3 separate regions of the Homo sapiens genome follow, and regions 1 and 2 are each linked to region 3. Evidence: promoter capture Hi-C in 16 types of primary human blood cells and fetal thymus (Javierre and others, 2016). All regions are on one chromosome and are shown on one strand. The core of a region is centred on a gene start or on the middle of the fragment in contact, and the rest is flanking DNA. Distances in the headings are between cores, read along the strand shown.

What was found. Contacts are between HindIII fragments. The CHiCAGO score rates a contact against its expected background, and 5 or more counts as called.
Region 1: a fragment that was not itself captured here is called in contact with the fragment with the promoter of TMEM174 in region 3 in 1 of 17 cell types (endothelial precursors); the score reaches 5.0 in endothelial precursors.
Region 2: a contact is called between a fragment that was not itself captured here and the fragment with the promoter of TMEM174 in region 3, in 3 of 17 cell types (erythroblasts, megakaryocytes and endothelial precursors). The highest score is 6.1, in erythroblasts.

What each region holds. Positions count from the first base shown.
Region 1 is chr5:73,422,459-73,425,786 of GRCh38, forward strand. No RefSeq gene overlaps it. Among named protein-coding and RNA genes, the nearest start is that of FOXD1, 25 kb to the right of the region's middle. The HindIII fragment of the contact is 2,637 bases long and covers 188-2,824 here.
Region 2 is chr5:72,915,316-72,918,540 of GRCh38, forward strand. No RefSeq gene overlaps it. Among named protein-coding and RNA genes, the nearest start is that of MIR4804, 38 kb to the left of the region's middle. The HindIII fragment of the contact is 1,599 bases long and covers 1,125-2,723 here.
Region 3 is chr5:73,171,577-73,175,026 of GRCh38, forward strand. TMEM174 (transmembrane protein 174) reads left to right here and starts at 1,617. Exons shown (of 2, transcript NM_153217.3): 1 at 1,617-2,293; 2 at 2,484-3,450. The coding sequence starts at 1,668. The coding sequence ends at 2,589. The HindIII fragment of the contact is 4,462 bases long and covers 1-3,325 here.

The sequences.
Region 1 (3,328 bases), core at 256-2,755, 250 kb after region 3:
ACATTGGAGGTTAGGACTTCAATACATGAGTTTGGAGTTGGGGGCACAAACGTTCAGTCTGTAACAGAGAGGCACTGCTGTGTCAGTGCAGTGCAGCTGGTGGATGGAACACGGGATGGCAATTTCCACCCCACCTTCAAGGCCCAGACCAGACCAAGGCCCTGCAAAGAGACCACCTACTCTTTGAAGCTTTCTCTGTCTTCCTTTTTACAGTCCCTTATTCCCCTTAAAAAAAAATTTTAGAGCACTTACTTTGACCATCTTTGTTTAGTAGCATAAGTTACTTTTAAATAATGTATATATGGATTTACATATATACAATTTATATAATATATACATGGATTAATATATATTCCATGGCCTTGACTAGAATGTCATATCAGTAACAGTGATAATGTGATGATGATCATGATAATGACAGCAGCTAACACTGATTTAGCCTGTATCATCTGCCAGTGCTTTGCATGCATTATATTGCATACTTTTCACGATAAACCTATGAGGTAGATATTATTATTGCCCATTTTACAAATGAGAACACTGTGGCTTAGGGAAGTTAAATAGTTTATCCACCAGGTTATTATGTGGCAGGGGTGGTCTCCAATCATTGGCATATGTATTCCCAAGCCTGTGATCTTAACCATGCACCATACGTAGGCCCCTCTTCATGCATACAGTGTCCCCCAGTGTCTATGAGGGATGACTCTAAATGTTAATTTCCATGCCCCTGGGACCACAGTTCTCTTAACAGAAGAATAAGATTTTGAGTATCAACACTTTCCTTACTGGGTAGAATTATATTTCCATTCTCAACAATGAATTAATTATTGCCTCCCTGTTTCTTTTAAACTAAGGCCTCTTTCCATCACCTGTGACTGGATTCTGTTGTGTGCCTTCCCTGAGCCTGTGTCATTTCATTTGCTACAATGGGAGTGATTGATGGTTCTAATTCTTATTTATTTAATTTTTTAATATATTAGGCACCAGACTGGGAAAATTTACTCACCCCATTTGTCATTCTAAAAAATCTAAGACTAATGAGATATAGAAAAAAAAAAAACTTAAATGGAACAGAGTTTCCCAGGGTCCCCAGTAGGTAGGTGGAGTCATGGCAAGAAATGAACCCAGGGCTTACTGAAGAACTCCAGTGGAAGACAGTGCAGAAACCCGGGTAAAAGGCCAAATGGGCCAGAGTCAGCCTCCTACTATGACAATCTTTGGTGTAAGGAAGTAGATATCCTTCATTCAGAACAAAGAGAACAGGACAGGGATTTGGTTAGCTCATGGGTCTTATGCTTATAAAAATGGAACTGGCAATAGTGGTTCCTCTCTTCTAATTAAATATGCTGCCAAGTTGAGGGACAAATTTGAATTTGGTCAAGTACCTTGAGTACCTCTGAGGAGAGCACCACAGAAAAGGTCTTTTTTTTTTTTCTTTTTTGGAACAGAGTCTCACTGTGTCACCCAGGCTAGAGTCCAATGGCACTATCTCGGCTCACTGCAACCTCTACCTCCCAGGTTCAAGGAATTCTTCTGCCTCAGACTCCTGAGTAGCTGGGACTACAGGCGGGCACCACCACGCCTGGCTAATTTTTGTATTTTTAGTACAGAAGGGGTTTCACCATGTTGGCCAGGCTGGTCTCTAACTCCTAACCTCAGGTGATCTACCCTCCTCAGCCTCCCAAATCCTCCCAAAGGGATTACAGGTGTGAGCCACCGTGCCTGGCCAGAAAACCTCTTTTCTAAAATGACATTGCCTCACTCACTTGCCAGAAAGTGTTTCTTCCCAAATAATGTCACTGATGAACTGAAGAACTTTCAAAGTATGATGGATCCATGTCATTTAGGTAAGCCATTTGTCTGGGGTGCCAAAACAGAATCAATTCTCCACAATTCCTTAAACAACAGGTATCCTTATATGGGCCAGATTTGCCTGAAAAGAACAGAATGACATTGCCCAGTGAATCCCCCAGGCTTCACATTCCAAAAGTGTCCCATTAAATGAATCCAAGCAGTTGCTTCTGAAATCATAAATTCCAAAAGACAATGAAAGTTGCAATCACAAGGGGTAACAGAAGCCAAACACATTAGGAACATGTTCCTTGTGCAAATAGCATAATCCCGGACACGCGGGAACACATGGTTTGCCTCAGACATGTTTCATTTTGTCATCGCATTGAGTGTACAGTATTTCTCTTTGGGTGCAAGAGTGATTGATTTCCTTGGGAGAATTGTTTGTAAGAACATGAAAGTTGCCAAAGCAAACACGTTGGAGGGAAGTGTGGAGAAGGGGAGTAAGAATATTTGGAGTAGATCTGGGTTTGGGAAGTTCATGCAGAGGTGAGACAGTGAGATGTAGAACAAATAAAAACATTCTGCACACTTCATCTACATAAATTATGTTCTGAAATTCACTCTGTGTAGACATTAGCAGTGCAGCTACAACTCTCCCTAGTGTGCCTCCAGAATGTGGGCACAAAGCCAATTTTTAAGTGAATGATTTGTAACTTTTCCTCCAAATAAATTAATCTACTAATATTTAGATCATCCTGATTTTAATCCACAAAAGTCATGTAGTCATTGTAAAAAATATCCAATAATCTATTTGTCTTTTATGATAGAATTATAGTACTGATTTGTATTAATAGATCTGTCGAGATATGTTGACAAAATGGAAAACATTACACATATTTCCTTTGATCTCTTTCTCTACCATAAAAAACCTACCTAAATAAATACAGCGGCATTTATAACATGTGAATTTGAAATGATCCTTTTGGTTATTTACTTTAAATTTTAAATTATGTTAAAGATGAGCATTTTAAGCTTCTATCTACCTATATGAACTTGCTTCTTAAGCGATGTAAATTTATTATAAAATACTCATGACACTTAGATGCTTAAGTGTGTGGTTACAAGGCAGAGTAACAAATGGAATTTGTTTACTCCAATGGGATTTTGTTTTCCATATAGCTATTGTTATAGTGCAAAATGAGAACTTCTGAGAATTAGCAATAGGATACCTAAATAAACATTCCCATTTAAAGATGATTCTGTAAGTAAAACATAAATAATTTAAACCCCAGAGAATAAAGGCTCTTGACCTGGTTCTGTACAGTGCCCAGAATAGCTTCGTTACATGAAGGTTCTCATCATTCACACTAAGGCAGTTTTTCTCAAGTCTCCCCACTGCTGTTCTCCTGCCTAGCTAGTTATCTATTGTGGTATAATAGATTACCCCCAAACTTAGCAGTTTAAAACAACACTTATTATCTCACAGTTTCTATGGGTCAGGAGCTGGGCACGGTTTGGCTGGATCCCCTAACTG
Region 2 (3,225 bases), core at 674-3,173, 260 kb before region 3:
ACAATTCCAAAACTTTTAAGAGAGGTGAGGCTTGGGTTTCTTTTTCTTTGTTACCTGGCCAAGAAAATATTTGAGAAGAGAGAGTTCTCTTGTGTTAACAAGAAAATAAAATTGAAACTTGGACATCATGTTCTAAAACACAGCCTCAAGAGTTTAATATTCCAGAATTTTAGGACTTAGGTTGTGGGGAAAAGATAATTAAAGTCATCCTAATTCTTGTTCAAGATTAGGAACCAAAAGTCTTTTCTAAGTCGTCAATATTTTAGTGATACTAAAGCCCTATCCATTTTATGCAAATGATCTTTTTCTTCTCAGTTCAGGTGATGAAACCATCGTAATGATAAATGAGTAAGGCTGGCTTAACAATTCTTGGACTGGCGGGCATTCTTGTAATGAGTTCATAATCAGTATGACTCCACAATTTCACGTGATTCTTTAAGAATGATTGGAAAAGTGGCAGCAGGAACTACAGAGCTAACTTGAATTTCCTTTGTGTTCTATACAGTTGAATATGGAATTACCAAAGCTCTGTCATTTTAAAAATTCTTTATTTCTGAGTTGTTAATTTGATGTAAAAGTGTAAGAACCCCCGAAACATCTCCATTATTCAGATAGACACAAATAATGTACACATCACAATTAGTATATATTTTTTTTAATTGAGAGGACTCTGGCTCTGTCTCCCAGTCTTCAGTGGCACGATATCTGCTCCCTGCAACTTCCGCCTCCTAGGTTCAAGCAATTCTCCCATCTCAGCCTCCCAAGTAGCTGGGATTACAGGCGCACGCCACCAGGCCTGGCTAATTTTTTTTTTTTTTTTTTTTTTTTTTTTTTTTTAGGAGAGAGTTTGGCCGTGTTGGCCAGGCTGGTCTCGAACTCCTGACCTCGAGTGAACACCTCGAGTGGTACGCCCACCTTTGCCTCCCAAATTGCTGGGATTACAGTTGTGAGCCACCGCCCCTGGCGACAATTTGTAAATTTAACGCAATTTCTAAACCATTGGCAAGAACAATACAGAGAAGAGTTGTTATACTGAGACCCTTTAGGTTTTTGTACCAGTCAATTCTTACATGCATGTTATGGCAGTCTCACTCTGATGATTTAAATCTTAAGTATTCTTTTCAAGCTTTGTGTTACTTCTTGAAGAACTTGAAACAATTTTAAGAAAGACAAGTGAACAGTTAAATGAATTGTAATACAACTACCTAGTGATAACTGCTGTTAATATCCTGTGCACATATATAAATATATGGTGAATTTGTGTTTTTAGTTATATCCAGAATTGTTTGTTAATATACATGGACATACCTACATATTATTCTATAAGCAATTTATGCAACTGTCTTACTGTTGTTGGACATTCAGAAGTTTTTTCTAATTTTTCACTCTTAGAAATAAAGTTTTAGTGAGAGTCGCAATGCTTAAATGTTTGCAAACATCTGTAGCGATTTCTTAGTGAAACTAGCAGGTCAAAGGTAGTTGGTCTAGTCAGATTACCTTTCAGTTAAATTGTACTCATTTTCATATCCAGCACCAACTCCAGTGGATTCTGTCATGTGTGCTGTAAGTTGTGATTTAATAGCATGATTTTCTAACTTTAGGAAATTTTATATACAAAATCTAGGTTTTTATATTACATATTTAACAGTTATTTGAGTCTTATATTGCAGGCAGTGTTCCGTGATCTCATGGAGCTTAACATTCTCTTTTAGGAAGACAGTAGTGTGTTAATGGTGGCAAGTGCCCATAAGGAAAGAAGGAGATGGAAGGTGATGATAGAGTGGGGGAGGTTGCTTTTTCAAATGGAGTAAGCAGGTAGGTCTGAGAGGGTGTTGTCATATGAGCAAAAAGCTGAAGAAATGATGGATGTCTGAGGAAGAATACTTCAGGTAAAGGGAACAATAAGGACAGATGTCCCAAGAACCATAATGCGTTTGTGTAAAACAAATGAGAGGGTTCTAATTTGAGCACCCAGAGTAAGGGAGAAGAGTAGATTAGATCTAAGAGATAACTGGAAGGCCAGATGGTATAGTTGTTATATCTGAATGAAGTAAAGGGTCATTGTAGGGTTTTGGGTTAGAAAAGTGATGTAATTGAGAATAGACTATAGCACAAGAGTCGAAGCAAGTAGACCCTTTTGGGGATGCTACTATGAACAGGGAAGAGTTATCAGTGGCTTGAATCAGGGTGGTAGTGGGGAAGGTGAAAAGTGGCTGGATATCTGGATATGTTTTAAGGAGGAATCAACATTTGTCAACATACTGAATTTGGGTTGTGGAGAGAAGAATCACAGATGGCTCTTAAGACTTTTGGTCTGACTTGAGCAGCTGGAAGGGTGCAGTTTACCTTAACCAGAGTAGGGAAGATCTGGCATTTGGTTGGAGACATCCATGAGAAGTAGAGTAGGCAGTTGGAGTTCAGGGAGATAACCTGGCTGAAGATGGAAAGCTGGAAGTTGGTGTATAAATACTGTTTCAAATCATTGGACAAGAACATCATCTGAGGACTGGAACAATTAAAGATGGTAGGGACTAACCCTGTAGCACTCAACATTAAAGTCTGAGAGCTGACTAAAAATCAAAGGAGCGTAGTATTGTGATGTATATTGTCTGCAGTGAGAATTACATTTATAGCATGAAGGTCATTATTTTGGCAGATTTCTGTATGGCTATGGGAGACGTAGAATGAGGGCCATCTCCTTCCTCTCTTCTAGGGTTCTACAAAGCTTGGGCTTCTGTTTTCCTCAAGGCCAAGTTCAGTGGCTTTGTTTCTTTAAAACTGAGTTGTTCAAAAAATTTGGAAGCTTATGAAGAGTGAATAAACAGGCCAAAGTGGCCAGATTACAACCCTGAATATTACCAGCTTGTAGTGTCTACATTCAAAATAAAACACCATCCCCAAAAAAAGATGAGCAACAAGTTTTTGTAATTAGATGAGATTATTTTAGAGTTCATATGAAAAAGTAAGATAAGGCAGAAAAATTGTTAAAACAATAATTAGTGTGGGACAATGCCAGTTTGACATTCTTTTAAATTGTGGCTTCAGGAATTAAAACTGATGCATGAATAGGCAGCTTAGAAGAACTAAGTTTAGATCTAAACATCTAAATACACTAGTATATTTGGAAACTATTTTATGGCACTTCAAAGTATAATTTTTAAAAGGCCAGGTGTGGTGGCTCATGCCTATAATCTCAGCACCTTGGGAGGCCAAGGCAGGTGGATC
Region 3 (3,450 bases), core at 367-2,866:
CTCCAAGGCACATCCAGGAAGATACCTCAGGGGTCACCTGCTTGCTTTTCCATCTGTTTGGCAGTGAAGTAGGAGATTACAAGCCTTGTCCTGTAGCAGGGAGAGGCATTTTCATGGGGAAAAATGTCCTTTGGTCTCCTAGAAGCATTTAAGGTTAACCTGGGGTTGGGTTTCCTAAGATTTCTTGATGATGAATCACCTGAGGTCCTTCCCTTGGATATTTGGTTCTGTTGGTCTGAAATGGGAGCTCACATTTTGTCCTTTAAAAAAGTGGCCCATGTGATTTCTTTGTCAAGGGAAGTTTAGGAAGCCCTGCCTTAGGGCAAGACGGCAGCCCTCTCAATTCTGCAAAAGGAGCTAATATAATATTTAATTACTGCAGAGAGCATCGGCTTGAATAAAATCTGTCTAGGAAGGAAAGAAGGCTACAGTTATTAATCAGTGGAGGAAGAAACTCATGGGGCTGTTTGGAAGTTTTGCAGTCATGAATGACAGATAATGTTATTGAAAATTAAACTGTCTTCTCTACATCAACTTGGGTTTGGTTGTAAAACATAGTAGGTTCCAAAACACAGCTGGTTGTTTCACCTTGAAGACCAGGAACTGTGTGGCCACCATGGAGGGAGGGTCCGAAGCATGTGTCCTAGTGAGCCAGGTCATATCTGATGCTTATTCAACCACTGGCAGTGATGCAGTGCATAAAAAGGTTTCCTATGACGTTGTTCCTCTCCCAAAGCTGGAATTACTCCCCAAACGCAGAAAGCAAAAGGCATGTGGGGCTGGCCAGAAAAGAACAGGATCTCAGGGCTTTGTGAGAACTGTTATTAAAGTTTAAGTATCATCACAGCTAGGGGTTCTTGAAGTAGATAGGAATACACACGCAGTCAAGAAATAGGTGTCTGTCTATTCCTAATGAACTGAACCACTAGGTAAATCAGGTTAGACTCCTGTGCATGTGTGGATATATCAAGGGCCCCATTCACTGCTGGAGACCCTTGAGGGAGCTCTGCCATTTCTACAAAGTTGGGTAGGACAAAAACAGGGTCTTATGGCAGCGTCTTAAATTGCTATAGAAGAGTACCTCCTGGGGCCAAGGCAGGAGGAGCACTTGAGTCCAGGAGTTTTGAGACCAGCCTGGTCAACATAATGAGACCCTATCTCTACAAAAAATTTTAAAAATTGGCTGAGCATTGTGATGTGTGCCTGTAGTCCTGGCTACTGGAGAGGATGAGGTGGGAGGATCGCTTGACCCAGGAGGTTGAGGCTGCAGTGAGCTATCATTGTGCCACTGCATTCCAGCTGGGTGACAGAGTGAGACCCACACCCTAAAAAAACAAAACAAAACAAAAAAAAGAAAAGAAAAGAAAAAGAAAGAGAAAGATGGGCTCAATAAGTTAATTTTTGAATGTGTGAATGAATGAATGTGAATTAGAGAGACAGCTTGTCATTGACTTGCAAAACAGAGACCTCCACTTGTTGACAATACATGAGAAAACTTCAGGCTTCATTTCTCAGACCTTTATTCTTCTAAACAAGGTCCAGCCCTCTGTGTGTTACACCCTGTTAAGCACAAGCCCTAAGTTCTTCTATAACTAATTTGGACCTGTGATTCCTTGGTTCTCACAATCCTCTCCACTCTAAGAAGCAGGGTGAGCCCACAAGGAGCAATGGAGCAGGGCAGCGGCCGCTTGGAGGACTTCCCTGTCAATGTGTTCTCCGTCACTCCTTACACACCCAGCACCGCTGACATCCAGGTGTCCGATGATGACAAGGCGGGGGCCACCTTGCTCTTCTCAGGCATCTTTCTGGGACTGGTGGGGATCACATTCACTGTCATGGGCTGGATCAAATACCAAGGTGTCTCCCACTTTGAATGGACCCAGCTCCTTGGGCCCGTCCTGCTGTCAGTTGGGGTGACATTCATCCTGATTGCTGTGTGCAAGTTCAAAATGCTCTCCTGCCAGTTGTGCAAAGAAAGTGAGGAAAGGGTCCCGGACTCGGAACAGACACCAGGAGGACCATCATTTGTTTTCACTGGCATCAACCAACCCATCACCTTCCATGGGGCCACTGTGGTGCAGTACATCCCTCCTCCTTATGGTTCTCCAGAGCCTATGGGGATAAATACCAGCTACCTGCAGTCTGTGGTGAGCCCCTGCGGCCTCATAACCTCTGGAGGGGCAGCAGCCGCCATGTCAAGTCCTCCTCAATACTACACCATCTACCCTCAAGATAACTCTGCATTTGTGGTTGATGAGGGCTGCCTTTCTTTCACGGACGGTGGAAATCACAGGTATGGCGTGTCTACTGGGGGAATGCACTCCTTCTAGCCATCTCCGTCATGATCTGTGGCTGTTTGGTCCATGAATAAGGTGTTGGGAGACTGTGAATCTCTTCTTAGCCTGTTGCCCACGATGGCAGCCTTGGTTCTGTGAATGGTGCTTTGGACCATAATGTACCTGTGTTTTCTGCTCACATTTCAGGCCCAATCCTGATGTTGACCAGCTAGAAGAGACACAGCTGGAAGAGGAGGCCTGTGCCTGCTTCTCTCCTCCCCCTTATGAAGAAATATACTCTCTCCCTCGCTAGAGGCTATTCTGATATAATAACACAATGCTCAGCTCAGGGAGCAAGTGTTTCCGTCATTGTTACCTGACAACCGTGGTGTTCTATGTTGTAACCTTCAGAAGTTACAGCAGCGCCCAGGCAGCCTGACAGAGATCATTCAAGGGGGGAAAGGGGAAGTGGGAGGTGCAATTTCTCAGATTGGTAAAAATTAGGCTGGGCTGGGGAAATTCTCCTCCGGAACAGTTTCAAATTCCCTCGGGTAAGAAATCTCCTGTATAAGGTTCAGGAGCAGGAATTTCACTTTTTCATCCACCACCCTCCCCCTTCTCTGTAGGAAGGCATTGGTGGCTCAATTTTAACCCCAGCAGCCAATGGAAAAATCACGACTTCTGAGACTTTGGGAGTTTCCACAGAGGTGAGAGTCGGGTGGGAAGGAAGCAGGGAAGAGAAAGCAGGCCCAGCTGGAGATTTCCTGGTGGCTGTCCTTGGCCCCAAAGCAGACTCACTAATCCCAAACAACTCAGCTGCCATCTGGCCTCTCTGAGGACTCTGGGTACCTTAAAGACTATAAAACAAAACAAAACAAAAACATCAAACCAATGAAATAAAATAAATCATGTCTCCTGCTAGAATAGTATTGGATACCTGACTAAATTACACAAAATAGACCATAATAGGATAGCGCTGTGAATACATCCTTCCCGATCACTGAGTCACAGTGACCCTTGGCTGCTGCTGTTCTCTTCTGCAAGGTTGAAGCTTGACGTGTGATGAACATGGGTGGGCTCTTGGTCCACCCCAGGCTGGGGCCTGCGCCAAGCATGAACTAGCTGGGACCAGTGGCTGACAGAACACAGGACTTCCCTAAGTACCCGTAGGTCT